7 separate regions of the Homo sapiens genome follow, and regions 1, 2, 3, 4, 5 and 6 are each linked to region 7. The links are contacts of gene promoters, found by promoter capture Hi-C in blood cells and fetal thymus (Javierre and others, 2016). All regions are on one chromosome and are shown on one strand. The core of a region is centred on a gene start or on the middle of the fragment in contact, and the rest is flanking DNA. Distances in the headings are between cores, read along the strand shown. Region 1 overlaps PRKCB (protein kinase C beta). Region 2 has its middle 8.5 kb from the start of LINC02194. Region 3 overlaps CACNG3 (calcium voltage-gated channel auxiliary subunit gamma 3). Region 4 overlaps PRKCB (protein kinase C beta). Region 5 overlaps PRKCB (protein kinase C beta). Region 6 overlaps PRKCB (protein kinase C beta). Region 7 holds the start of CHP2 (calcineurin like EF-hand protein 2).

Region 1 (3,666 bases), core at 1,113-3,612, 340 kb before region 7:
TGGAAAAGAAGGGAGGGAAAGATAGGAGTGAGGGATGGAGAAGACAGAAAAGGAGGGAGGTAGGGAAGGAAGGAAACAGGAGCTAAGGGAGGAGGAACTCCCTGATTTCAGGTGGCACATAACCCAACCTCCACCACCCATGCTCACTGCAGTCATTTCCACTTACAATCTAAATGTCTCATTCCACTCAGGGTTGAGGGAGCATTTGATGGTTTTGGTCTTCTGTTTGCTCTCACTTTTGGGATCGGGAATCAGTTTCAGTTTTACGTAGGGATCTGACAGGCCATTGGGGTCCATAGGTACAAGGTTTTTAGCATCTCTTACTGAAAAAGAAAAAGCAGTTTTTGCATTAATACTGTCCAACATGTTTAAGCACCAAGCAGTGACAGCTGCAGAACTTGTGGAAGGTTCTTTGGCATCACACTTGTTTAGTGAGAAATTTAATTTTATTAACATCCATAGCTGAAGCAGTGCACAAAATGAGATGGGCTGATAAGATGTCAACTCTGGTCTGTGTTGGTTAAAAATGGATTTCTGACTTTTACACTGCTCTTCCCATACCAAGATTAACTGTAAGTTTTCTAAGCTTATTTTCCACAAAGCCCACAGGAAAGGCTGGCTTCTTTCATTTAGCATAACGTTTTCAAAGTTCACCACATTATAGCATGTATCAGCACTTCATTTTTTTGCATGACTGAATAATATTCCATTGTATAGATATCCCACATTTTGTTTATCCATTCAGCAGTTGATGCATAGTTGGGTTGTTTCCACTTTTTGGCTGTTGTGAATACTGCTGCTATGAACATTTGTGTACCCCAACACAAAAGGTCACATATTGTATGATTCCATTTACATGAAACATCCCAAACAGGTAAATCCATAGAGACAGAAAGTAGACTACTATTAATAGTTGCCAGAGGCTGGAGGGAAAGGGAAATGGGGAGTGACTGCTTAATGAGTACAGGGTTTCTTTTAGAGGTGATGAAAATTTCTGAGAACTAGATAGAGATGATGGTTGTCCAACACTGTGAATATTCTATAAATGTCACTGAATTGTACGTTTAAAAACAGTTAATGGTTAATTTTATGTTACGTTAATTTTACCTCCATTCAAAAAGAAAAAGCTAAAGAAAGGAAGAATTACCCTCTAAACCAAGGTACACCTATTATCCATGTATCACCCATAACCAGCACCCAGACAGCCCATAGAGAGAAGGCTGGAACAATGTCAGCAGCATTAGAGCTCAGCTCCACCCTGACTCCAGAACACCCAGGTAAAGAGGCTATAAGGCTAACATGGTGAAACCCTGTCTCTACTAACAATACAAAAAAATTAGCCAGGCATGGTGGCAGGTGCCTGTGGTCCCACCTACTTGGGAGGCCCAGGCAGGAGAATGGCATGAACCCAGGAGGCAGAGCTTGCAGTGAGCCAAGATCATGCCACTGCACTCCAGCCTGGGCGACAGAGTGAGACTCCGTCAAAAAAAAAAGATGAACTTACAGGAGAAAAGGAGGCAGGGAATCAGCAGTGAAGATGCAACTGGCTATAGAAAGGATGAGGGAGACTAAATCATCAGCTTGGAGAAACAGGAAGTAGTTAATTAGGAATCAATTCAGAAACCAGTAATGCAGGTAGTCAATGGAAGCAGACTAGAAAATGAGAATTGCACAGCTCTTAAGGATACAATGTCAATCATCTCACTTACAGTAGAACAATCCACAGTAATACATTCAATCCAAATCGACTCTAACTATCTGCTAAAAGGTGAATACATAATGACTCCTATCAGGAATGCAAAGATGGTTCAATCTTAGGAAATCTATTTTCAATATATTCATCATATTTATAGATCAAAGAAGAAAACCATAAGATCATTGTAGTTATCTAGAAACAGCAGAGAATTTTAACAGGATAAAGGCTATCTGAAATAACAGCACCATGGTTCATGATAAATGCAATTCCATTAAAGTAAGGAATAAGACAAAGATATCCATTACCATAGCCATTATTTAATACTTTTTTTTCTCGTGTTCCATAAGTGCAGTAAGAAATAAAGAGTTACCCTCTAAACCAAGATGCACCTATTATCCATGTATCACCCATAACCTGCACCCAGACAGCCCATAGGGAAAAGGCTGGAAAAATATCCACAGCATAAATAAAACCAGAAATTTTGTAAACTCAAGATAACAAGAAAAACAGATTAGAAGAAAGAATATTGGAAAGTAGGAGAGAAAGCACCCCCTCATTTCCTGCAACCTTTGCTCACCCCCAATCATAGTTATCTCCTACCATGGTCACGCTCTGGAGCCTATTATCCCAGAAATTATACCACTTTCTCAATCTCAGTTTCAAGTACCCTACTATCTTACACCAATTTCTATTTTTCCAATTCATTAGTTCTATTATTCTACTGCAATAAATCTTCCCCTATTCGTCAGTCCATTCTCCACCAATCAGTCCCTCGAACCCAACACATTCTCTTGATCTCCCTATTCCCTCTTGCTTTTACTCCATTCATATCCAGATTCAATTTTATGGTGCATTTTAGCTACTCCTTTGGAAAGACCCTCAACTCCCTTGCCCCTCTTTCTTTTTATTTTACTTGTCTCACATGACCCCAGCCCTACTTAAATTCAAATACCTGTCCTTTCTTACTCTGTCCTTTTCCTACACTCAAACAGCTGACCATTGCTGGAAAATAAATAAGACTGACTTCCCTAAAATGATACAGCTAGTAAGGGGTTGAGACCGAATAAATGAGATGGGAGAAGCATTGAATCGGCTACCAGGATCAAGCTGTAACTTATTCTGTGCTGACATTTTTTCTGCACTCCAGCAACATGGCAGTGTCTTCTATTTTTCCACAGGCTGAATTCATCTCCCATCTCAGCTTGCAAGCTGCATCTCATTTTTACACCAAAAGCAAGATGTTGACCTTGATCAGTTAAGTTCAACAAGCAAGTCCCTACTAAGTGCTAAGCATTCTGCTAGGCCCTGGGGATATAGGGGACAAAATAAAATGTTAATCTTGTCCCCAAGACAGACCATATAGTGTCATGGACACAGGGCTATAAGATCCCAGGGTCCGCATCTTACCAAGCAGTTACTTCACACATATGAACCTCAATTTCTTGATCAATAAAATAGGTTGTTACAAGAGTAAAATTGGATAAAGAATATACATGTTTAGCACAGAACCTGGAACTTAAAAAATACTCAATAAATGTTAACTGCTATATATTACTGCTATTTCATTATTATTCTTATTCATATGCAATGCCCTCTTTCACTACGTTTTTGTTGTGTGTGTGTGTGTGAGAGAGAGAGAGAGAGAGACAAGGTCTCACTCTGTCACCCAGGCTGGAGTGCAGTGGCATGATCATGGTTCACTGCAGCCTCGACCTCCCGGGCTCAAGTGATCCTCCCAACTCAGCCTTCCAAGTAGCTGGGACTACAGGTGCTTGCCAACCTATGCCTAACTAATTTTTAAAAAAATTTTTGTAGAGGTGGGGGTCTCTCTATGTTGCCCAGACTGGTTTCAAACTCCTGGATGCAAATGATCCTCTAGCCTTGGTCTCCCAAAGTGCTAGGATTACAAGTGTGAGCCACCATGCCTTGCCTGTTTGTCTATTTTTATTATGAAGAGTTAACCATTTCCA
Region 2 (3,663 bases), core at 182-2,681, 470 kb before region 7:
ATGCTAGAATCGAATCAAAGTGACACATCTCTATACTGAAAGTGTTATGCTCTTTCTCTCTCTCTATATATATGTATATATATATAGATGATAGATAGATATATATGTATGTGTGTGTGTATATATATGTGTGTGTGTGTGTGTGTGTGTGTGTATATATATATATATATATATATATATATATATATATATATATATATATATATGGAGAGAGAGAGAGAACCTGTGTCCCTTCCTGAAAAATATTTATAAAATCTTACCATGGCCAGGATATTCCAATAAGCCCCCACACGCCCACCCTTGATCAAGAGCCTTGATTCATTCTTAAGAAATCCCTCCATTTTCTACAGAGCTCTTCTAGTGAAATCTTGTCAAGCTTTCCTTCCTGAAGTCTGTATTATAAAAACAAGACATCTTATTTTCCTTTTCCGGTTATGAAATTATATGATAATATTTGAAGATGTTTCAAAATACGACTCACCCCCTATTCCAAACCCTGACTCTCACTGGTCTATGAGTGATTCTTGTAGATTTTTAAAAGAATGCCTTTCCCCAAATGGTAAGTTTTGAGATGATGCCTGACGACTGCTATCGAATGCTTAACATTTGAAAATAAATTCACAAAACACAGAAGATGAACAGATGGTCTGTGAGTTTTGTCCATTCTCTGTAGCTTTCCACCACTCTCTGCAGCAACAGACAAAAAGGAGTTTGAGCCAACCCCAGGTGGGTGTATTGCGAGGGAGAGGCGAGCTGTCCCCAGGCCTGCACCATACGAAGCATCCGTTGTCTTTGGGGGCCCCGCAGGAGGGCTGTATCCACAGAGACAGGGTCCTTGCTCTTTATTCCAGCTGGTGGGGACAGTGCCAATGGGAAAGGGGTTTAGAGGCATCAAGGTCCTCTTGCTGTCAGAGCAACCTTGGTAGGGTCATCTCATCTCTTTTCCTGGGACAACCAGGAGTGAGGGTTCATCCCTGACTGCACTTGCCTGCTGGCATGGCAATACTCGGGAACTTGGTTTTGAAATCCCAGCTTGGTCAATTTCACAGCAGTTGGGTCACACGCTAGGCTATGATCTGATCCACACCAGGTGTATCAGTTTCCTGGGGCTGTGGAAACAAATTACTACAAACTGAGTAGCCTTAAATGGTGACAGGTGTTCTCCCACAGTCCAGAAGGCCAGAAGTATGAAATCAAGGTGTTGGCAGAGCTGTGCTCTGTCTGGAGGGTCTACGGGAGAATGCATTCCTTGCTTCTTCCAGCTTCTGGTGACTGTCGCATCCTTTAGCATCTAGTGCCTGCATCTCCCTCTGCCTCATCTTCTCATTGCCTTCTCCTCCGTGTGTCTGTGTTATCTTCCTCTGCCTCTGCCTTGTAAGGAAACTCGTGATGACATTTAAGGCCCACCCTGTTAACCCAGGGTCATCTCTTCATCTCAAGATCCTCCATTCAATTACTTCTTGCAAAGACCTTCCTCCCCACCCCCAAAATAAGGTAAAATTTCCAAATTCCAGGGTTAGGACTTGATATCTTTGGGTGGTCGTTATTCAGCTTACTACTCTGGGCCTTACTCACCACTACAGATGCCCTAATCTTGTCCTGCTTTCCCTCCCTTTCTGGCCAAGTCTCTTCCCTTCAAAAATGTCACACAGACCCTAGAGAAACAAAGCTGGGATGGTTGAAAGAACCCTGGGCTTGGGGTCAGTAAAAACAAGATTGGCTGGATTTGTCAGCGGCAGTCACCTGCCTCTCTCTCTCTCTCTCTCTCTCTCTCTCTCTCTCTCTGTGTGTGTGTGTGTGTGTGTGTGTGTTTCTACTCTCTCATCTCCACAAGGATGGCAGTGGTCAAGGTAAACTGCACCTCTGCCTCCTTGCTGCACTATTACAATGGCCTCCAATGATCTTCCTGCTCCTCCTTTTTCTCTACAAACTATATTCTCTAATACAAATCAGATCATGGCCATTATTTGCTTAAAGTTTCTGTAGGGAGACAGAATAAAGGCCCTCCCAACACATTCACATCCTAATCGCTGAAACCTGTGAATAAGCTCCTTACGTGACAAAGGGGACTTTGCAGATGTGTTAAAAATCTGAGATGGGGAGATTATCCTGGATGATCTAAGTGGTCCCAAGGTAATCAGAAGGGATGCAGAAAAGTCACAGATGGAAAAGCAGACATAGAAGTTGCAGAGATGCACTTTGAAGATGAACAGGGGCCATGAGCTAAGGAAGCAGGCAGCCTCTAGAAGGTGGGAAAGGAAATGAAGCCAATTCTCCTCTGGAGCCTCCAGAAGGAACCAGCTCTGCTAATGCCTTGATTTTAGTCCAGCAAGGCTGCTTTTGGACCTCTCACCTCCAGAACAATAAGATAATATATTTGTGGTGTTTCAAGCTATGGAGCATGTGACAATTTGTTACAGCAACAACAGGAAAGTAATACAGTCTTCAAGGGATTCTCATTGAACTTAGAACAAAGTCAAGCTTCTCAGCAGGGTCTACAAATGCTTACGTGATCAGACTGCTGACTTCCTCTTTGGAAGGAATCTTCTACCACTTGGTCCAATGTTTACCAGTCTTTAGCCACATGGTTCTACTTTCTGCTCCTTGACAGGCCAGCCCTCAGGTTCTGGCTCTTGACATTCCTTCAGTCTGGAATGCTTTGCTCTGGATTCTCATCTTTGAGCTCAAAATATCACCTTGTCAAGAAGGCCACCCTCCTTGGCGCCTTAGTTAAATAGTCGACAACCCAGCTATTTATTGACAACCCAGCAGGTCAAAACCCTGCTGTCTCCAATCATGTTATTCACCATATTTAATATGCATTTAATATGCATCCCTCCTAAACATCAGCTGCATGAGAAAAGGGCCCGTGCTTTGTTCCCATCTGGAACAGTCATTCATTCTAAAGAGAGATTTGTAGAATGAATGAATGAAATAGACCTTCCATGTCCAATGATTTCTCTCCAAAGCCATGGGGTCCCTGCCATGGGTTCAGCCCCTGTGGCATATTAACAATAAGCAAATCACCCCCAATCCAGATTTGAGCCATGAGATGATAGGGGATGAGATTTGGAGGTCATTTCTGCTTGTTCCCCCTTAACATAATTTTCAGAGAGTCTTCCCTCTTAACATAATTTTCTGGTATTTCCTCTTTGTTCATCTATTTCCCTTGAAAGTCCTGTGCTGGGCTTTGCCCACTTACAATTAGTAGGATTTCCTGAGGACGACCTCGGGGTCAAATACCTTCAGGGGCTCATCAGCTAAAGTCCCCCTTTGATTTCTGCTGCTTAACTAGGGCAGAAATGTGAATCTGGTGCTGCTGATGTCTTAGGGAGTCAAGGAAACTCCTTTATTTTGAGAGCAAGGGCCCTTAAGTTGTGTGGGTTTAAGGAAATACTAATGTCTTCTCTGTTTATGAGAGGCCCAAATCATTATGTTTGAAAGAATCTCTTTCATCTGGATTAATTGTGTCAGTCTGATCATTCATACCAGCTAAGAAACTCTCAGAGAAGGGATCATCACAGTCCCTGCTCCCCACCCCGACTTCACCTCTAGGGAGGAGGGTTGACCTGGCTGGTCAAGATTGAGCAAGTTTGTTGGAAACAGTGCTAGGACACCTCCCTCCCTTACTCCAGCCCGTATTATGTGGTAGACAGCTTCAGA
Region 3 (3,264 bases), core at 129-2,628, 500 kb before region 7:
GTATTGCCTGCTGAGTTTAGGTGTGTGACCTTGGGCAAGTTATGTAAATCCCCCAGGGCTCAGTTTCCTCATCTGTAAAATGAGGGTAATAATAGTACCTACACAACTGAGCTGCTTTGAAGATGAAAGAGTTAATTTTTCAAAATTCTTCGAACAGCCTGAGCACATAGTAAGTGCTAAATGTAAGGGATATTCTGGTAGGTTAGCTTATTTTTTCCTAGGTATTTTTTAAGGGTTGAAAAAGTGATTATTGACTATTAAAGAGTAATTCAGGAGTCAAATATAAAAATATCAGAAATTTGGATTAAAAATGCCATTTAGGTAATTTACAAGGCTCAAAACTGGCAGCCCATGGGCCAAATTCAGCTACAAGGTAAACTTGGTTTGGCTGATCATGTCACTCAAGGAGGAGAAGGATATAACTTACCTACAGAAATGAAAACTGGAAACATCCTTCTCCTCCTTGAGTGATGGGATCATCCTTAAAACACATAGTCAATACCAGTGCAAATACCAATACATGTTGGCTTTAACATCATAATTGCTTGGAGCACCTTTAGAAAACTCAGATTTTCCTGGTCTACCTCAGACCTATGGAAGCAGGGAATCTAGTTGTGGAGCCCCTGATAATCTAATTTTTTAAAAGTTCCTCATGAGAATCTGATGACCAGCAAAGTTGGGAAACGATGTAGTTTGCTTATTCTTGAATATTTTTGGTGTTGGAAGACCCATCACCTGCCAAAGCTTCCCATTCCACATTGGATAGTTATTTATATTGAGGTAAAACCTGGTTTCCTCTAGCTCCTACTTCTACCTCCTTGAGGCCACACAGAACATCTCAAATCTCTCTTTCATATGACAGCCCTTCAGATATTTGCAGACAGCTGTCATGTTCTCCTTGGCATTCTCTTCTTTTGGATAAAATAATCACATTGTCTCATGGCTCTTTAAAAAAGCACAGAAGAACAAACATTTCTAATTTGACCTCTAAGAAAATGGAGCTACGAAAACCCCCAGTTTTCATTTGACACTTAAAGGACCAGAAAATGAGGATTTTGAGGCTCAGGTGTAGGTAAGAAATACTGAATGGGAAAGGACTGTTCATCTTCATTCTAGCAAAGGATGGAAATGCCTGGGATGGATGCTACCAACTGCATGTGACTTCCCATGCAGAAATCAGAGGCTTCTGCAAATTCCCCAAACACTTGATGTGTTTAGTACACATCTTGGCTTCAAATTTCAGCCAGGACCCACCTAGGTGTTAATTACATGGGTGCAGCCATAGCTAATATTTTATTGTGATTCATTGTGATTTGTGCATCTTACTGTATTTAATACTTCAAAAAAGTGAACAACAACAAAAAAAGCCAGGCCAAGTTGTATGGGGACTGCAACACATTTTCTCAATAGAATTCACCTGCCCAAGGTTATGTCTTCAATTCATCCAATTCCTTCTTGATTCAATTTCTCACTTCTCCCACTAAGCCTACAGAATGCCTGGCTGGGGTTTCAATTCCTTGTACAAACTGTGGGTGTAGGACTTGATGTTGGAAAAAAGAGAAATCATCAGTTGAGAAATTCTTAGCAAGTGTTTAGAAATTTTAGGTCCTACCTCTGCTCTTATAGATATATATTTTTTTCATAGATCATAATGAGGAACGTCAAACTTCATTTTTAATTGTGCATTCTCAGGTTTGATTCCCAGAGGCAGAAGAATTGGAAATGGCTAAAGCACTGTATACATATGTGCCATTTTTGGCTTGGAGGAACCTTAGAACTTCTATGCCATCTCTAGAACCATGTAGATATCGCAACATCCACCAAATCAGTTTTACAAAAGATAATTCAATTCCTTATAGCCAATATAAGAAAGGGAAATATGGAATTTCCCTGAGGTAAATGACTTCACCATACCCAATCACAAATGCTCACAAATATCCAACTTTTGTCATTGTTTAGGAAATAATTATTCTAGAATTTCTGTCAGTATATTGAATACAGTATAAGCTTTAGATAATGTTAATTCAAGACCACCTAATCCAAACGTATCATTTCCCAGATGAATAAACTGAGAGTTGGAGAGGGTAAATGTCTTAACCAAGGCCACAGCGATACTTTGCAGCATTACCCAGGTCTTCTGACTTCACATGATCCTTGCTGCATTAAAGGTAGCCCTTTCCTACCTGGGCTTCCCACCAGTTGCAAATTTGTGTTAGAAACAGAATCAATTGTAGTAGCGCTACGGTCAGGAGAGCAGTTGTTCAAAGTGTCAGGACATGGGAAAAAGGCCAGAGAATGATGCAATATTACACTGGCAAGTGATGTCATAGCATGATTTCCCAAGCGATTTACATAAATGCAAGTTCTCAAGAAGCCCTGACAAATGCCAGCCAGTGAAAATGCAGTGTGAAGAACCAATGGCAAGCAGGGGAGGGGACCACACAGGAAACGCAGATTTCCTTGCCCACCACTGTGACAAGCTTCACAGATTTCTCGGAAGCCTAAGAAAACCCCTACTGCCCCTCTAATCCAGTGACTTCCCTCAGGCACATAGGCTCCAAAGAGCTTTGATTTTCTTCCTTATCTTTCTATTTACTCCCAGTGATATCCAAGCATTGCCTACTGGTGCTGAGAGTGACTTCTGGTGTGGTGAAAGCAAGTTTAATAGTGTGATAGGCTACAAAAGGGCTTTATATTTTTAAATTGCTCTTTCTTCTTCATTATAAGTTATAACTACTCCCTAATTTTTAGAACTAGAAATGACGAACTGCAATTCTTGGAGAATCAGTCTTTTGTAAATGTCATGGAAATACCTTTTTAGGGGTTTGGGAATGATTTAGGAATGAAGACAGGTGGATACAAAATACCAAGACTTCAGTTTTGTTGTGATCCAAACTAATAAAACATGTATCAATAAGGATTTTTTCTTAAAATGTGTGCATAGGGTGTGGGTGGGAGTAGGGGTTTACATATGTTACCCTGTTACTGATTGGCAGTGGAAGTTCATGACAATATCTAGTTAGAGCAAACTCAGGAGAAACTGATAAGTCTATGTTGAGAAATAATGAAATAGCTCAGAATGTGCCAGACCGGGTCAGGATCTCTCTCTCTCTCTCTCTCTCTCTCTCTCTCTCTCTCTCTCTCTCTCTCTCTCTCTCTCCCCCCTCACTTCTTTCCTCTTGTCCCTTCTCCTCCCTTCCCTCCCCCTCCCTTCGAAATCCAATTTAAGCAGGGTTAAAGACCCCATCTCAAGCCAGAGATCCA
Region 4 (3,466 bases), core at 95-2,594, 370 kb before region 7:
AGGCTTGTGCCATTCCCTAGTTGCCCCACAAATTATTAGTGGGGCTGTTGTTGTTGTTGTTGTTTGAGACAGTGTCTTGCTCTGTCACCCAGGCTGGAGTGCAGTGGCACGATCTCGGCTCACTGCAACCTCCGCCTCCTCGGTTCAAGCGATTCTCCTGCCTCAGCCTCCTGAGTAGCTGGGAATACAGGCGCCTGCCACCATGCCCGGCTAATTTTTGTATTTTTAGTAGAGACAGGGTTTCACCATATTGGCCAGGCTGGCCTCGAACTCCTGACTTTGTGATCTGCCCACCTTGGCCTCCCAAAGTGCTGGGATTACAGGCGCAAACCACCGCACCTGGCCATTAGGGTTTAAAAACATGTTTTGTTTTGTTTTGTTTTGTTTTCCTGGGTTAAGGGAGGTGGAAACAGATTACCCCAAAGCCCCATCACTTTCATCTTTCGAAGGGGAAGAGCAAATCACTGCAGCTGTGTTCTTCTGTTTATGGAGATTGATCTATATACCTAACCAGACTGCAAAATGTTCAAAGTTGGAATTCAAATATAAAACCTGCATTAATTTACAACCCTAGTTGGCAACACTAGAGTTGCAAAGGATTACTCTGTTTTAAAGGATCATAGAGGTGTTTGTTATTCTACTTTGCTTTCATGACTTACTGTTGTTTTCATCTATGATTTATCTGATGCTATATCTCCAGTCTGGAACAGAGTTCTCAATTATTATAACAGTTTCCATGGAGACATATGATCTATTCTCTCATTGCTCCCCAGTGATTCATTCTCCTACGACTCCACCCACTACCCCCCAACCCCAATCCTTTCCATGGGACTCTCCAGAACTTCCAATCCTCCATCAAACATCCTCTCGTCTGTTTTGTTAAGTGATCAAAAACAGGCGTAGTACATGAACTTTTGAGTTAATAAGGACAAGAATAAAAAATGTTAAATTAGCTCAGGGGGACTGGAAAGACGCAAATTAACTGAATAAAAGTGTTCACATAGGGAAAGCAGTAGCAGTAAGTGGTCAGAGAAAGACGTGAACTTGGGTAGGAGCAGGACTTCTCAGTGTTTATCCTTTTAATATAATCTTAATGATGAATCATGTGAATGCATTGCTTATTAAGAATATCATGGCCGGGCGTGGTGGCTCACACCTGTAATCCCAGCACTTTGGGAGGCTGAGGCAGGCAGATCACCTGAGGTCAGGAGTTCAAGACCAGCCTGACCAACATGGAGAAACCCCGTCTCTACTAAAAGTGGAAAATTAGCTGGGCGTGGTGGCGCGTGCCTGTAATGCCAGCCACTCGAAAAGGCTGAGGCAGGAGAATCACTTGAACCTGGGAGGCGGAGGTTGCGGTGAGCTGAGATTGTGCCATTGCACTCCAGCCTGGGCAACAAGAGAGAAACACCGTCTCAAAAAAAAAAAAAAAAAAGGAAAAAAGAAAGCATATATATATATAATTTAGGACAGGTGCGGTGGCTCACACCTGTAATCCTAGCACTTTCTGAGGCCACGGCAGGATGATTGCTTGAGCTTATAAGTACTTGAGCAGCCTGGGAAACATAGTGAGACCATGTCTCTACAAAAAAATACAAAAATTAGGTCAGGTGCGGTGGCTCATGTCTGTAATCCCAGCACTTTAGGAGGCCGAGGCGAACGGATCACATGAGGTCAGGAGTTCAAGACCAGCCTGGTCAACATGGTGAAACCCTGTCTCTATTAAAAACTACAAAAATTAGCCGAGCGCGAGACTGAGGCAGGAGAATCACTTGAACCCTGGAGGTAGAGGTTGCAGTGAGCCGAGATGGCGCCATTGCACTCCAGCCTGGGCAACAGAGTAAGATTCTGATTCAAAAAAACAAAAACAAAAATTAGCCAGGCATGGTGGTGCATGCAGTTATTTGGGGGTCAGAGAAAGATGTGAACTTGGGTAGGAGCTGGACTGCTTGAGTCCAGCATGTCGAGGCTGCAGTGAACCGTAATGCACCACTACATTCCAGCCTGGACAAGAGAGTGAGACTCTATCTCAAAAAGAAAAAAAAAGTGCTCATTTAATTTGTAAAAACTCAGCTTATTAGAACCTCTTCTTTATTTAGGCCACTTTCTTCCTCATCATCAGAGAAACTGCTCCATGTTTGAAATCTCAATGCCTCAATTCTTCCTAACATTTTACGTATCTTGACCTCATCTATTTTTTTTTCATCCTTAGACTTCTAAACTCCCTTTTTCCCACCCAGGTGATGACCCTCTTTATGCTAGACATCTTCCCCAACCCAATCTAGATACCATTTTCATTCATGTATTCAACATGCTTTTCTTGAGCACTTGGTACAGGCTCTGTGGATCTGCAGTGGACATCTCTCTTCCCAGAATCCTTAACTCTCTTTCTTCCATAATCTTCTAGTTCACTGATTCTACTAATCCCACGCTTAGTTCAAATCCACCATCTCCTTCTCCATCTCCACCCCAGGGATACTCAGAGCTGCTGGTAAAAACCATACAACGTTGTGGACCACTGCCAACTGCCTATTCCCAACCTTAGGGACTGGATGGGCCATCTTACTGGCTGCCCTTACTCTCTATTCCCATCCCATGCTGAAGCTCTTCAGACTTTGAGCCATCATTTCAGATCCCTTAGTCCATCTCAGTGGATGCCCTTGCCACCCACAGACAGAGAGAATCCACGCATTCAATCTGGGCACTGAATGAATTCCATCCCTAGGCTCTGAAATCACAGTGGCGACCACGACGGAGAAGATCCCTACTCTTGTGGAGCTTAGACCTTAGAAAGGGAAGAGAGAAAAAATCAACAAGGACACAAGAAAAGCATTGCTCAGTGATGGGTGCCATGAGAGAGTTAAACATAATGGACAGTGAATGAGCGGCAACTTTTCAGTGGGTAGTTGGGGAAGATTTTTCAGAAGAAGTGGCGTCTAAGTTGAGATGTGAATTGCAGGAAGCAGCCGGCCTTGCAAACAGCAAAAGGAGCTGAATCACAAAGCCTCTAAGGGAGGAAGGAGCTTTGTGTGTTTCAGTGACCCAAGAGCTGATGTTGTGGCCAGAGCACAGTGGGTGATGGGGAGGAGAAAGAAGAAAGGAAGTCACACAGAGAACAAGGGCCAGATGATAAAGGGTGATACAAGCTAAGGATGTAACATAGAATTGCTTCTAATTGGATGGAAAGTCATTGGAGGGTCTTAAGCAGGGGAGCCCCTTGACCTAATGTAAGCTTTAAAAAATTATTACGGCTACGAAGTAGAAAGTAAATTAATTATAGGTAACAAGATTGGGATTGCAATTAATTATAGGTAACGATTAATTATAGGTAACAAGATTGGGATTGCAATTAATTATAGGTAACGATTAATTATAGGTAAAAAAGATTGGGATTGGGATTAATTATAGGTAACAAGATTGGGATTGAGAAACCACTGAGGAGTTTCTGCAGTTATCCAGGTGATAT
Region 5 (3,245 bases), core at 644-3,143, 450 kb before region 7:
TGCGATACAGAGGGAGCGTGATTTCCCTGCTAATCAGCAGCTTACAGGGCTGGCAGATCACAGCCTCCCTGTTAAGTGTTTCTGTGTTTTTCAAATGGAGCTGTCACTGACCATTAGCTTCAGGAGCGCTCCCTAAATGGAGACGTCAGCCCTTGGGAGACACAGCCCAGATCAGTTTCCTGCCTGCTGTGTCCTTGAAGTATGGGCAGCTCAGTGGCTGGGATCTAATTAAAAACGCACCATGGATTGCACCTGCCTCTCTGGCTTGTCTTGGGTGAACACTTCAGCCTCACTCAGCTTAAAAAAAAAAAGAAAATCCGACTCCCTTGTCATCAGGGTACATCAATGGGGCTCCTGGAACAGGAATGGGGGCCAGAAACCAACTGGGTTATTTAAACCACAAGCACCTCTTTCAGGATTAAGGAGAGGAGTAAGAAGGTTGATTTGTTGAATTACGCTCCTGAATTTAAGAATCTAGACAGTTTGAAAAGCTTATCTGTGACCTGTTACACGTAAGCTCTTTTTCTTTTTCTCTTCTCTTTTAATTTCTGTTTCATTGAATTAATAACAGAGTCTTGCTGTTGAATGTGGAGTTGGCTTGGTCACCACTGCCACAGGGATCTCTTTTTTGTTTTGTTTTGTTTTGTTTTTTGAGACAAGGTCTTGCTCTCTTACCCAGGTTGGGGTGCAGTGGCGTGATCATAGCTCACTGCCACCTTGAATTCCAAGGCTCAAGGGATCCTCTTGCCTTGGCCTTGTGAGTAGCTTGGGACCACAGCTGCACACCACCATGGCCAGCTAAAGGGATCTTTTAAAGACGCTGACTGGAGTATGCCATTTCCCTGCTCTTATCTGCAATAGCTCCCCATTGCCCAAAGCCCACACTCCTTAGCATGGCTTAAGGGGCCATTTAGGACCTGTTCCTGGACACTTGGTCAATGGCCCCTTCCCTGCCTGTGTCCCCCACCCCCTGAGACACCCTCCAGCCATACTGAAGTATTTCCAGTTCCTAGAACACTCATGAACTCTTGGAGGTGACTCCAGGCCCTTGCACAGGCTGCCTCCTCTGCCAGGAACACTTGCCTTCCACTCCTTCTCCACTCATCCAGCTATCTCCTGTGCATCCTTTCTGTCTCCAGAGCAGTGTCACTTCCTCCACGAGGTTTTCCCTGACCTGTCCTCTATACTCCTGGATTTACCCCATCAAAATACAGGGTGTTCATCAAAGAATCGTCAGAGGAAAGAAAAATTGGGAATCTACTATGGGCCAATAGGGAAAACAGTTAAATAAATAATGATACATCTATTTGATGTATTACCATGCAAAACATTCTTAAAAATTAAAAGAAGATGTAGAAGAATATTAAATGACATAGTTATATAATTACTAACAGTGTGTACAATATCTTCCCATTCTATAAATTATATACACAAATGTATACGTAATATCTGTACACATTTTATACACAGGCTTATGGAGATTCGAAGAATTACAGATGGTTTTAATTTTTTCCTTTTCCCCTTTATGCTTGATTATATTTTAAAAATTTACATAACAATCAGGTATTGTTATTATTATTTTGTAATAAGAAAAGAAGCTGTGAAAGCTATTTTAAATGAGACAGCAATTATCATGGAAGAAATTGAAAAATAGAAATAAAGAGAATGGGAGTATTTGGGTAAATTGTTAAGGTTAGCCTGATGCTACTTTAACATGCTTCATCTTAGTAAAACACTCTAAGGCAGCAGGAGGATCGCTTGAGGCTAGGAGTGTGAGACCAGCCTGGGCAACATAGCAAGACCCTGTCTCTACAAAAATTTAAAACTTCTCAGGGCATGACGCCACATGCCTGTAGTCCCAGCTACTTGGAAGGCTGAAGTTGGAGGATTACTTGAGCCCAGGAGGTTTAGACTGCAGCAAGCTATGATCGTGCCTCTGCACTTCAGCCTGGGTGACAGAGTGAGACCCTGTCTCAAAACAAAATGAAGCAAAAAAACTCTAAAACAAGTGGCTGCTTTGACGTGTATTTTGGTGCTAAGGGATAATAAGGAAGGCTAATATTTGGCTGTTGTAGATCCTCTGCCGAGCAGCATGCTGGACTCTGGCGATACATAAGAGGGTACCTGTTCTTGTCCCCGTTGAGCTTAAGATCTAGCAGAGGACACAGATGCACACACAGGCCACTGCATGGGACCATGGGACAGGTGCTGCCATTGAGCACAGAGGAAAGGAACCCAAGAAGGGCCAGGAACTCTGTCTGGAGGGAGTGACATCTCACTTGAGTGGGACCTGCAAGAGAGACATTGCTTCTTTGGAGGAGGAAAGGAAAGAGCCTGGAGAAGAAATGGAGGTAAAAAGAGGGCATGGACAAGGTAAGATGGTGGAGGAGAGGATAAGGCTCCTCCCTGCTGTCTGTTGCCTAGCCGACTTTGATAACATGAGGCTAGTGGCTCAGGGGAGCTACCTGCCCAGCCTCCATCAAGACACCAGGACACCTTCAGGTTAACAAGACCAGAAGGTCACGATGAAAAGACATCCAAGCTACATAGCCTAGGCAAAAAGACAAGCGCATCTTTCTTTTTCACATGTGCACATCCAGTGAAATGCAGGGTCGTTCCTATGCCTTCCAGTTTCCCACAGCCGAATACAGGAGGGACCCACTCCAGGGAGAATCAGATGCTCAAAGCTGCATACATATTTGATCATTTTAAAAAGTCATTTGTGGTCTGGGTTTTGGCAGAAAAAAAGAGAGATTTAAGTCTCCTTTTTCTGCTAATAATGAAGGTCCCTTACAATCAGGGATCTTTTATCTCTTATGTTTATTTAGGGAGGAAGTCAGTAGGAGAGGGGTCTTTTGTGTTTGATACTAAGTCTGTTTTGTTTTGCTCTTGCTTTTCTTAATTTTCATTAAAAAATAACATCCAGTGTTTTGATTTCCTCCAGATCTCAGTTTAAATGGCACCCTGTCAGAGAAGCTGTTCCAGACCACCTTCAAATAAAGAGGATTCTCATTCTTCCCTCCTGTTATTCTCTGTCAAGATATCCTGTTCATTTCTTTAACAGAAATAAAATCTGGTATATCTCAGTCTATAATTATTAATACATGTTCATTCTCTGTTGATTGTCTATGTTCTCATCTAGACTGTAAGCCACATGAGAGCAAAATCACATCTGTTTTATTCACCACTGCGTTTCTAGAACCCAGGGATGAAAAAAAATCAAATGGACAAATAATAGTGTATGT
Region 6 (3,515 bases), core at 607-3,106, 400 kb before region 7:
GAAGCTTCCAGATCATGCACCCATGCACTGAAGCTTCCGAGCTGAGCTTGCCAGCTCACAGCATTCCTATCTCCTGTCCTCACCATCTTCTCTCTCATCACAGCCACAGTGACAAAGGCCAGGCAGATGCAGGGATTTGGGACACCTTAGGAAGAGGGTCCCTGTCACACACTTCCACAGCAAGAGAACTCTTTTTAACCTCTTTCTTCCCCAGCACAATAAAAAAGAAAAGCTGCCAGTCTGAGTGGCTCCTGCAGACCCTCTGCTTACGTGCATGGCAAGACAGGGCTCCAAGTGCTAGGATGGGCACCTTCAGTTTATTTCTTGCCTCCCTCTGTTCTCTCCCTGGTACCCAAGGGATGTATTTTCCTTCCTCAATGCTTACTAACACAGAAACAATGACTCAAGGGAGTCACTTTCCTAAGATGTAGAGTCAGGTGGAGACAGGGACTTCCTGCTCCTGGATTCCAGAGAGAGCTGGGGCCGGGACATGTGCAGGGAGGGGGCAGGGAGGTGACTTAGCTGGAAGACAAGTGAGCAGAGGAATTGGAGATGGAAAGAAGAAGAGTTCTCAGCTGAGAAACTCCAGAGCCCAGTAAGAAGGGCTTGGTGCTGAGCTGTCCTTGACAGTGGACACCCTCTGATATGGTTTGGCTGTGTCCCCACCCAAATCTCGTCTTGAATTGTAGCTCCCGTAATTTCCACGTGTTGTGGGAGGGACCTGGTGGGAGATAATTGAATCATGGGAGCGGTTTCCTGCCTACTGTTCTAGTGGTAGTGAATAAGTCTCACAAGATCGGATGATTTTATAAGGGGTTTCCCCTTTCGCTTAGCTCTCATTCTCTCTTGACTGCTACCATGTAAGACGTGACTTTAGCCTTCCACCATGATTGAGGCCTCCCCAGGTCCATTAAACCTCTTTTTCATAAATTACACAGTCTCGGGTATGTCTTTATCAGCAGCATGAAAACGGACTAATACACTCTCCCTGACCCATCACCACCGGTCAAGGCACCATCCAACAATCCTGAATATCTGCAACTATCTCCCATTCCCCCAACCAAAACGAGAGAAGGAGGGGCCCTAGACACCTTCAGTGCAGATGCAGTCATGATAGGACATCTTAGCCTTCCACATGGAAGAGAGACAGGGCAGAATGGCTGGGAATTTCCCCCTTCACCAGGGACAGGGGTGGACATCCTACATCTGTGTCAATTACCCCCATTTCGTAGATAAACACACTGAGGCTCAGGGAGATTAACTTGCTTCAGCTAATGACTGTTCTGAAAATGCAGCTCTGACTGTGCCACTTGAATGCTGAAAGCCCTTCAGTGGCTCTTGAAAGCCAAACAATTCCATGACCACATCCTGTTCTTTCTTTTCCTTTGAACATTCGACTCCCACTGTCTATGACGTCCTTCCATGCTCTTGCACTGCTTTGAAAATCTGAGATTCCACTGGGCTGTTATCTCCTCCTCTAATCTGGAGGTTCCATTCAGACCAAATCGGCCACTACCTCCTCTGGGCACCAGGGCTGCTTTGTAACTATGTCAGTTACTGTAGCTCAGGCATTTCCGCACTTCAATCATTCATATCCGTTTTTTCACATTTCTTCCTGCCACCTAAACTGTTATTTGCTTAGCATTTTAAAAATCTAGTCACATTTCAACTTAACTAAATTTGAAAAGGAAACTTTATATCACCACTATTAATGGCAAGCCAGTATCACAAGTCATAAATGGAAGATAAGCATAAAAATAAATAAAAGCAAAGCGGTGCCAGTAAATTCTAGCTATATACTGCTGGCTGCTGAAGGTTCTGAGTCAGGCTCTGCATCTTCTCCTTGTTAAAGGAAAAAATTGTATTAGAAAGTTGTTAGAGAGCATATTGTCATCAAATGAGATTTGCTTGTTCAAGTAATTAGAAAGAGTAAAAGGAGACACAGAAATAACCTTATCATAACGTGATTTAATTTTATTTCATAGTGCAACTACACGGCACCTAAAACAATCTCAAGTAGCAGTTGAAATCTTCTTGCAAATCAGCAATGCTATGTGCTCCGCATCGTAGGAGATACTATTGCATTTGTACAGATAGTTTTAAAAATCAATAAACAGGGGTGTGTGAAGATTCCCAGTGTCTTGCCCTGCCCTCAACAACATGCCCTATACTGATTAACGGAAAACAGAACGGGCATGCATAAGGCATAGCAAAAATTTAGACATAGAAGCGAACTGAATTCTAGAGCAGGAGTCAGGACACTTTCTCTATAAAGGGCCAAACAGGAAATATTATAGGCTTTGCGGGACGGTCTGGATCAAGAGAATGAGTGTGGCCGTAGTCTAATAAAACTTTATTTACAACAATAAGCAATAGCCTGGGCTCCAATAGTTTGCTGACCCTTGTTTTGCAACAAGTGTTTCAAGAAGATCAGGGAAAATAAGAGTAACCACATGATAAAAAATGACTGCAGTTTAATTTGGAAATGAAAACCCTAGCATGCCTTTCACTTCTTCCAACTCTGTGTTATTAGAAGAACCTTCTGATTGGGCAGTGGATACAGCTGGTCACAGCTGATTGGATCAGAGGTAAGTTCCTCAACCTGAGCCAAGCCAATCGGATTCCCCCTCCCAAGAATTTGAATTAGGGTACTCTGAGGAGTCAGTCCTGGGTCCCTCAACAGAGAATACACAGATCTTCCTAGAGTGGTCCTTTTTTGTTTTGTTTTGTTTTGTTTTCTGTTTTTCGTTTTTGAGACAGATTCTCACCCTGTTGCCCAGGCTGGGGTGCAGTGGCATGATCTTCGTTCACCTCCTCCCGAGTTCAAGCAATTCTCTTGCCTCAACCTCCCAAGTAGCTGGGATTACAGGCGTCCACCACCACACCTGGTTAATTTTTGTATTTTTAGTAGAAATGGGGTTTCACCATGTTGCCCCAGCTGTTCTCAAACTCCAGACCTTCAGTGATCCGCCCATCTAGGTCTCCCAAAGTGCTGGGATTACAGGCGTAAGCCACCACACTCAGCCTAGCGTGGTCCTTTTCTACCACTGTGCAGGCAAAGAGGAATAAAATAGATGTTTGAGGCAGGGGGAAAAAAACAAAGAAGGTAAGAGAACAAGCAGAGGCCTTGCTTTCAGTTTCCAATCTCTCATGAGGCTTAGCCATTTTCTGTTTGAAACCTTTATGTTCCTCCAATAAAGTTATTTTTATTTATATTACTTTGAATGGATTATGTATCTTAGAGATCCCTAAAACAAAATTATTACATAGGTAGCTCAAATTCTTACTAATAATTAAAATACATGAAGCCAAGTAGCATCATGTCAGTATGTGACCTAAAACAAGGCAAATTCCAGTCTTTATAAAGGACAGTGCCTCTTGCCTATGTCAGAATCACTTGAGGGTCTTTGCTTACCATATAGATTCCAAGCACTCCCTCTCCTTCAGGAGCTCTGGGCTGTGACCTGGGAGTCTGCATTTTAATAAACATATTCTTCCTATGTTGATTATAATCA
Region 7 (3,552 bases), core at 18-2,517:
GTTGTCAATGCCCTCAGGAAGGGAGTGGGAGATCCCTGGAGCCTGTCCCTGGTGTGGGTACATCTGCATTCTCACTTGTGCAGGTCCTCACAAACTCACAGTGAAGTTTGTTCCTTCTGCTGTTGAGAGGTTCAGGTTTCTTGGGGTCTTGGGTTTCTGTGTCCTCATCTTCTACAGGGCGAAAATGAGCCAAGACCCTGACAAAGCCTGGGAAATCCACTCGCTGGCTCCTGGGGAGACGGGACAGAATGGAAAGAGGTGGTGGTCACCTTGGCCATCACTTTGCCTCCGTCTCTAACCTCCCCTCCCACCCACTCACACACCGGTTTTCCCGCCTTCACCTCCCCACGCCCAGCAAGCCTCACCCATCGGGGAAGAAGCTTTCTATAATTCGGTCTCCCAGGGGGTTCACGGCGAGCGCCCCTATCTGCTGGAGATCCATGCGGCTGCAAAGCCAAATTTCAAAGAGGGTAAGGCAGAGATGCCAGACGGAGGGTCAAAGAGGGACATGGAGTCAGAGAGACAGAGGCCAGAAGTTATGAGGCCGGCTCCCCCTCACCTCAGGTAGCCCTTCTTATTCCTGTCCAGTGCCCGGAACCGGTGGTGCAGGCGGAGCAGGCTGGCTTGGGAGACTGCGGGAAGGAGAGTGGGGTGGGGGTGTGTGACTCTGCAGGGCCAGCTCCAGAAACCCGCCCCAACAGGCCAGGAAGATGGGCCAGAACAGCGGGGGCTGGCTGGAAGGGGCGATCATCCCGGGGAATCAGGGGTTGAGCTGGCCGGGGCGGAGGGAGAGTGACACGACCCCGCGAAGATCCAGGTTCAAGACCCGGGCGGCTCGCAACCTCCCGAAAACCAAAGAACCAAAGCCATCCCTTCCAACCGCCGTCAGCTCTGCCTTCAGCTTCGAGCCGGGCTGGAGGACACCTGGGTGCCTGGATTCCTCTGGACTCCGACCCCGTGAACCCGGATCCTCCCCAGACTTGGAGGCTGGGACCCCTAGGTTAACCCGCCCCTAACCCAGCGATCCCAGGCACAGGGGCCTTGGTCTTCCAGCTCCGGGGAGCCCCGGACCCCAGACTTGTAAGTTCGTCCATCCTTCAACCCAACCCCTTCCCTAGCCCCAGACGCCTGGGTTCGCCCCGTCCCCTCCGCAGCCGCCGACGCGGGCGCACTCACAGCCGGTCTCTCGCCGAATACTGTCCCCGTCGGGAATGACCGCGGCGTGGGAGCTGCGCGACCCCATGGCCGAGCTGGAGGCGGAAGGGCCGGAGCAGCCACCCGGACCCACGCGTTCTCTCCTCCCGCCGGAGAGGCGTGGCCGCCCCAGTGGCCCCAGGGGGACGAAGGCCACAAGCCTGGCGCGCGGCCAAGCTCCAGAACCCCGGCGTGCCTCTCCTCCCACCCGCGACCCGGGCGAATGGAAAACAATGTGCAGGGTGGCGGGTCAGAGGGAGGCTGCGAACAACGGGCTGTTTCAGCTCCGAGATTTTGCGATCCGCACGGGAGAGGCTGGTCGAGTCCCAGGCCCCGCGTTTCCACGCCTCCCCCGGGGCCGGTTCCCACGGTGCGCCCTGACACCTGAGCCACCTCCTCCTTCGCGGGCCCCGGGCGCTCCCAACCCCAGGGCGCTCCCCGGCGTCGACGCTGAGGAAGCCTGGGAGACCTGACCTCCTCTGTAGAGACCACGCCCTGCTGGAAGGCGGGTGGCCTATGGGGAGGGAATCCTGGGGGGAGGGGGGAAGAGGCATCGAAGAACTCCCAAAGACGGGGAAGTGGGGAGGGGCGGCGAGATGAAGGGTGTGCGTTAGGTTAAGTGGAAAGAGCACTGGTTTGGGAGTCCTTGTTGGAATCCCAGCCGTGCCCGTGACTCTGGGAAAGTCAGTAAATCTTGGTTTCATCCCTTTTGTTCGGTTCACATTGCCTTATTGTTGTTTAATTGAGCCAATGCTTAAAATTCAGGAGATTTAACCCAAAATCCACATTCTTGGCTTTTCCTGAGAAATCAGAAGTTCTATCACCACCAGGCCCAGAGCTGTCTTCTGGCCACAGTCCCTCCAAGCCCAATTCACTCCCTTAGGTACCTACTGATCCCGTAGAGCTCCAGACTGGGAATGACTTAGTCCTCTGAACAGCCCTCCAGAGCCATGGGACTCCTTGGCCCAAGAGAGGGTTACAGACATCACTGGGACTAGGCTTAAAGCAAGAATGACAACAAGGGCTCTTGTTTACCACGCTTTGCTAAGCACTTTACGTGCATCCGTTCACACATTCCTTGTAGGCCCTGCTGGGCTGCTTTCTTCTAATTTTACGTGGTGGAGGCTGCCGGGGGCAAGTTGTGAACTAATTATGTAAAGCGTGCATTCTCAGTGCGGTCTCTATCTCACCCCAACGGGGCAAAAAATAAAACATATTTTTTATGTACAAAGCACAGCATACATACAGCACATAAATAGATATACAGTATAGCTGTGATATTGAAATTTCAGGGCAGACGTGGAGGCTCATGCCTGTAATCCCAGCACTTTGGGAGGTAGAGGCAGGAGGATTGCTTGAGCCCAGGAGCTCAAGACCAGCCTAGGCAACATAGTGAGACCCCATCTCTACAAAAGAATACAAAAAAAAAAAATTAACCAGGTGTCGTGGCACATGCCTGTAGTCTCAGCTACTTGGGAGTCTGAGACAGGAGGATCACTTGAGCCCAGGAGGTTGAGGCTGCAGGGAGCCATGATCACGCCATTACACTCCAGCCTGGGTGACAGAGTGAGACCCTGTCTTGAAAAGAAAAGAGGCCGGGCGCGGTGGCTTATGCCTGTAATCCCAGCACTTTGGGAGGTCGAGACGGGCGGATCACCTGAGGTCAGGAGTTTGAGACCAGACTGACCAACATGGAGAAACCCAGTCTCTACTAAAAATACAAAATTAGCTGGGCGTGGTGGTGCATGCCTGTAATTCCAGCTACTCGGGAGGCTGAGGCAGGAGAATCGCTTGAACCCGGGAGGTGGAGATTGAGGTGAGCCTAGATCGCGCCATTGCACACCATCTTGGGCAAAAAGATCGAAACTTGGTCTCAAAAAAAAAAAAAGAAAGAAAATAAAATTTCATGGGGTAGGGGTGAGGGTGGGGAAATTAAAAAGACTAGGGGAGGCGTTGATAATGAAAAAAAAACAGGTCGAGAAACTCATTTGTCAAGGGACAAACACTAGAAGTGTCCACTTTTGAAAGTATCTTTAAACCGTTTCCCCCATCATAATTGCACATACATACACAAATTTCCCAGGGGGGAAAACATGCAAGCAGTTCATTGCAAGGGCTCAAGTTCATATCCACCCTGGAGAGAGAGAAGCTGAAGAAACAGTCTATCCTCCAGCCCCAGGCAGAGGCCTGCATCAGATAAGTCTTGAAAATATTGATCTAAGAAGTGCTTGCTTCTTTCAGATACCCCCAAGGATTAAGCAACTGGCATAAGGAATGCTTGATTCTCTTTCAGACTCCCCCCAAAGACTAAGCATGCGGGAAACCACACTCCTCCCTAATGAAGCCCAGCAATCACTG

Evidence for each region. The method cuts DNA at HindIII sites, captures the fragments that hold promoters and counts their contacts. A CHiCAGO score of 5 or more calls a contact.
Region 1: a contact is called between a fragment that was not itself captured here and the fragment with the promoter of CHP2 in region 7, in 1 of 17 cell types (neutrophils). The highest score is 5.2, in neutrophils.
Region 2: a contact is called between a fragment that was not itself captured here and the fragment with the promoter of CHP2 in region 7, in 3 of 17 cell types (neutrophils, naive CD4 T cells and activated CD4 T cells). The highest score is 5.8, in neutrophils.
Region 3: a fragment that was not itself captured here is called in contact with the fragment with the promoter of CHP2 in region 7 in 6 of 17 cell types (neutrophils, total CD8 T cells, naive B cells and 3 more); the score reaches 9.0 in neutrophils.
Region 4: a contact is called between a fragment that was not itself captured here and the fragment with the promoter of CHP2 in region 7, in 1 of 17 cell types (neutrophils). The highest score is 5.8, in neutrophils.
Region 5: a contact is called between a fragment that was not itself captured here and the fragment with the promoter of CHP2 in region 7, in 1 of 17 cell types (monocytes). The highest score is 5.4, in monocytes.
Region 6: a fragment that was not itself captured here is called in contact with the fragment with the promoter of CHP2 in region 7 in 1 of 17 cell types (neutrophils); the score reaches 5.2 in neutrophils.

The regions. Positions count from the first base shown.
Region 1 is chr16:24,089,448-24,093,113 of GRCh38, reverse strand. PRKCB (protein kinase C beta) reads right to left here. Exons shown (of 17, transcript NM_002738.7): 6 at 167-323. Among named protein-coding and RNA genes, the nearest start is that of MIR1273H, 110 kb to the left of the region's middle. The HindIII fragment of the contact is 3,547 bases long and covers 589-3,666 here.
Region 2 is chr16:24,225,805-24,229,467 of GRCh38, reverse strand. No RefSeq gene overlaps it. Among named protein-coding and RNA genes, the nearest start is that of LINC02194, 8.5 kb to the left of the region's middle. The HindIII fragment of the contact is 2,105 bases long and covers 379-2,483 here.
Region 3 is chr16:24,257,265-24,260,528 of GRCh38, reverse strand. All of the region lies in intron 1 of CACNG3 (calcium voltage-gated channel auxiliary subunit gamma 3), which reads right to left. Among named protein-coding and RNA genes, the nearest start is that of CACNG3, 2.6 kb to the right of the region's middle. The HindIII fragment of the contact is 1,263 bases long and covers 747-2,009 here.
Region 4 is chr16:24,124,974-24,128,439 of GRCh38, reverse strand. The region is part of intron 9 of PRKCB (protein kinase C beta); the gene reads right to left. Among named protein-coding and RNA genes, the nearest start is that of MIR1273H, 76 kb to the left of the region's middle. The HindIII fragment of the contact is 3,780 bases long and covers 1-3,234 here.
Region 5 is chr16:24,205,679-24,208,923 of GRCh38, reverse strand. All of the region lies in intron 16 of PRKCB (protein kinase C beta), which reads right to left. Among named protein-coding and RNA genes, the nearest start is that of MIR1273H, 4.2 kb to the right of the region's middle. RefSeq lists an enhancer at 1-339. The HindIII fragment of the contact is 2,799 bases long and covers 494-3,245 here.
Region 6 is chr16:24,149,560-24,153,074 of GRCh38, reverse strand. All of the region lies in intron 9 of PRKCB (protein kinase C beta), which reads right to left. Among named protein-coding and RNA genes, the nearest start is that of MIR1273H, 52 kb to the left of the region's middle. The HindIII fragment of the contact is 3,641 bases long and covers 36-3,515 here.
Region 7 is chr16:23,752,741-23,756,292 of GRCh38, reverse strand. It overlaps CHP2 (calcineurin like EF-hand protein 2), which reads right to left and starts at 1,267. Exons shown (of 7, transcript NM_022097.4): 1 at 1,177-1,267; 2 at 560-632; 3 at 366-446; 4 at 100-230. The coding sequence starts at 1,243. RefSeq lists an enhancer at 734-1,379. The HindIII fragment of the contact is 3,392 bases long and covers 383-3,552 here.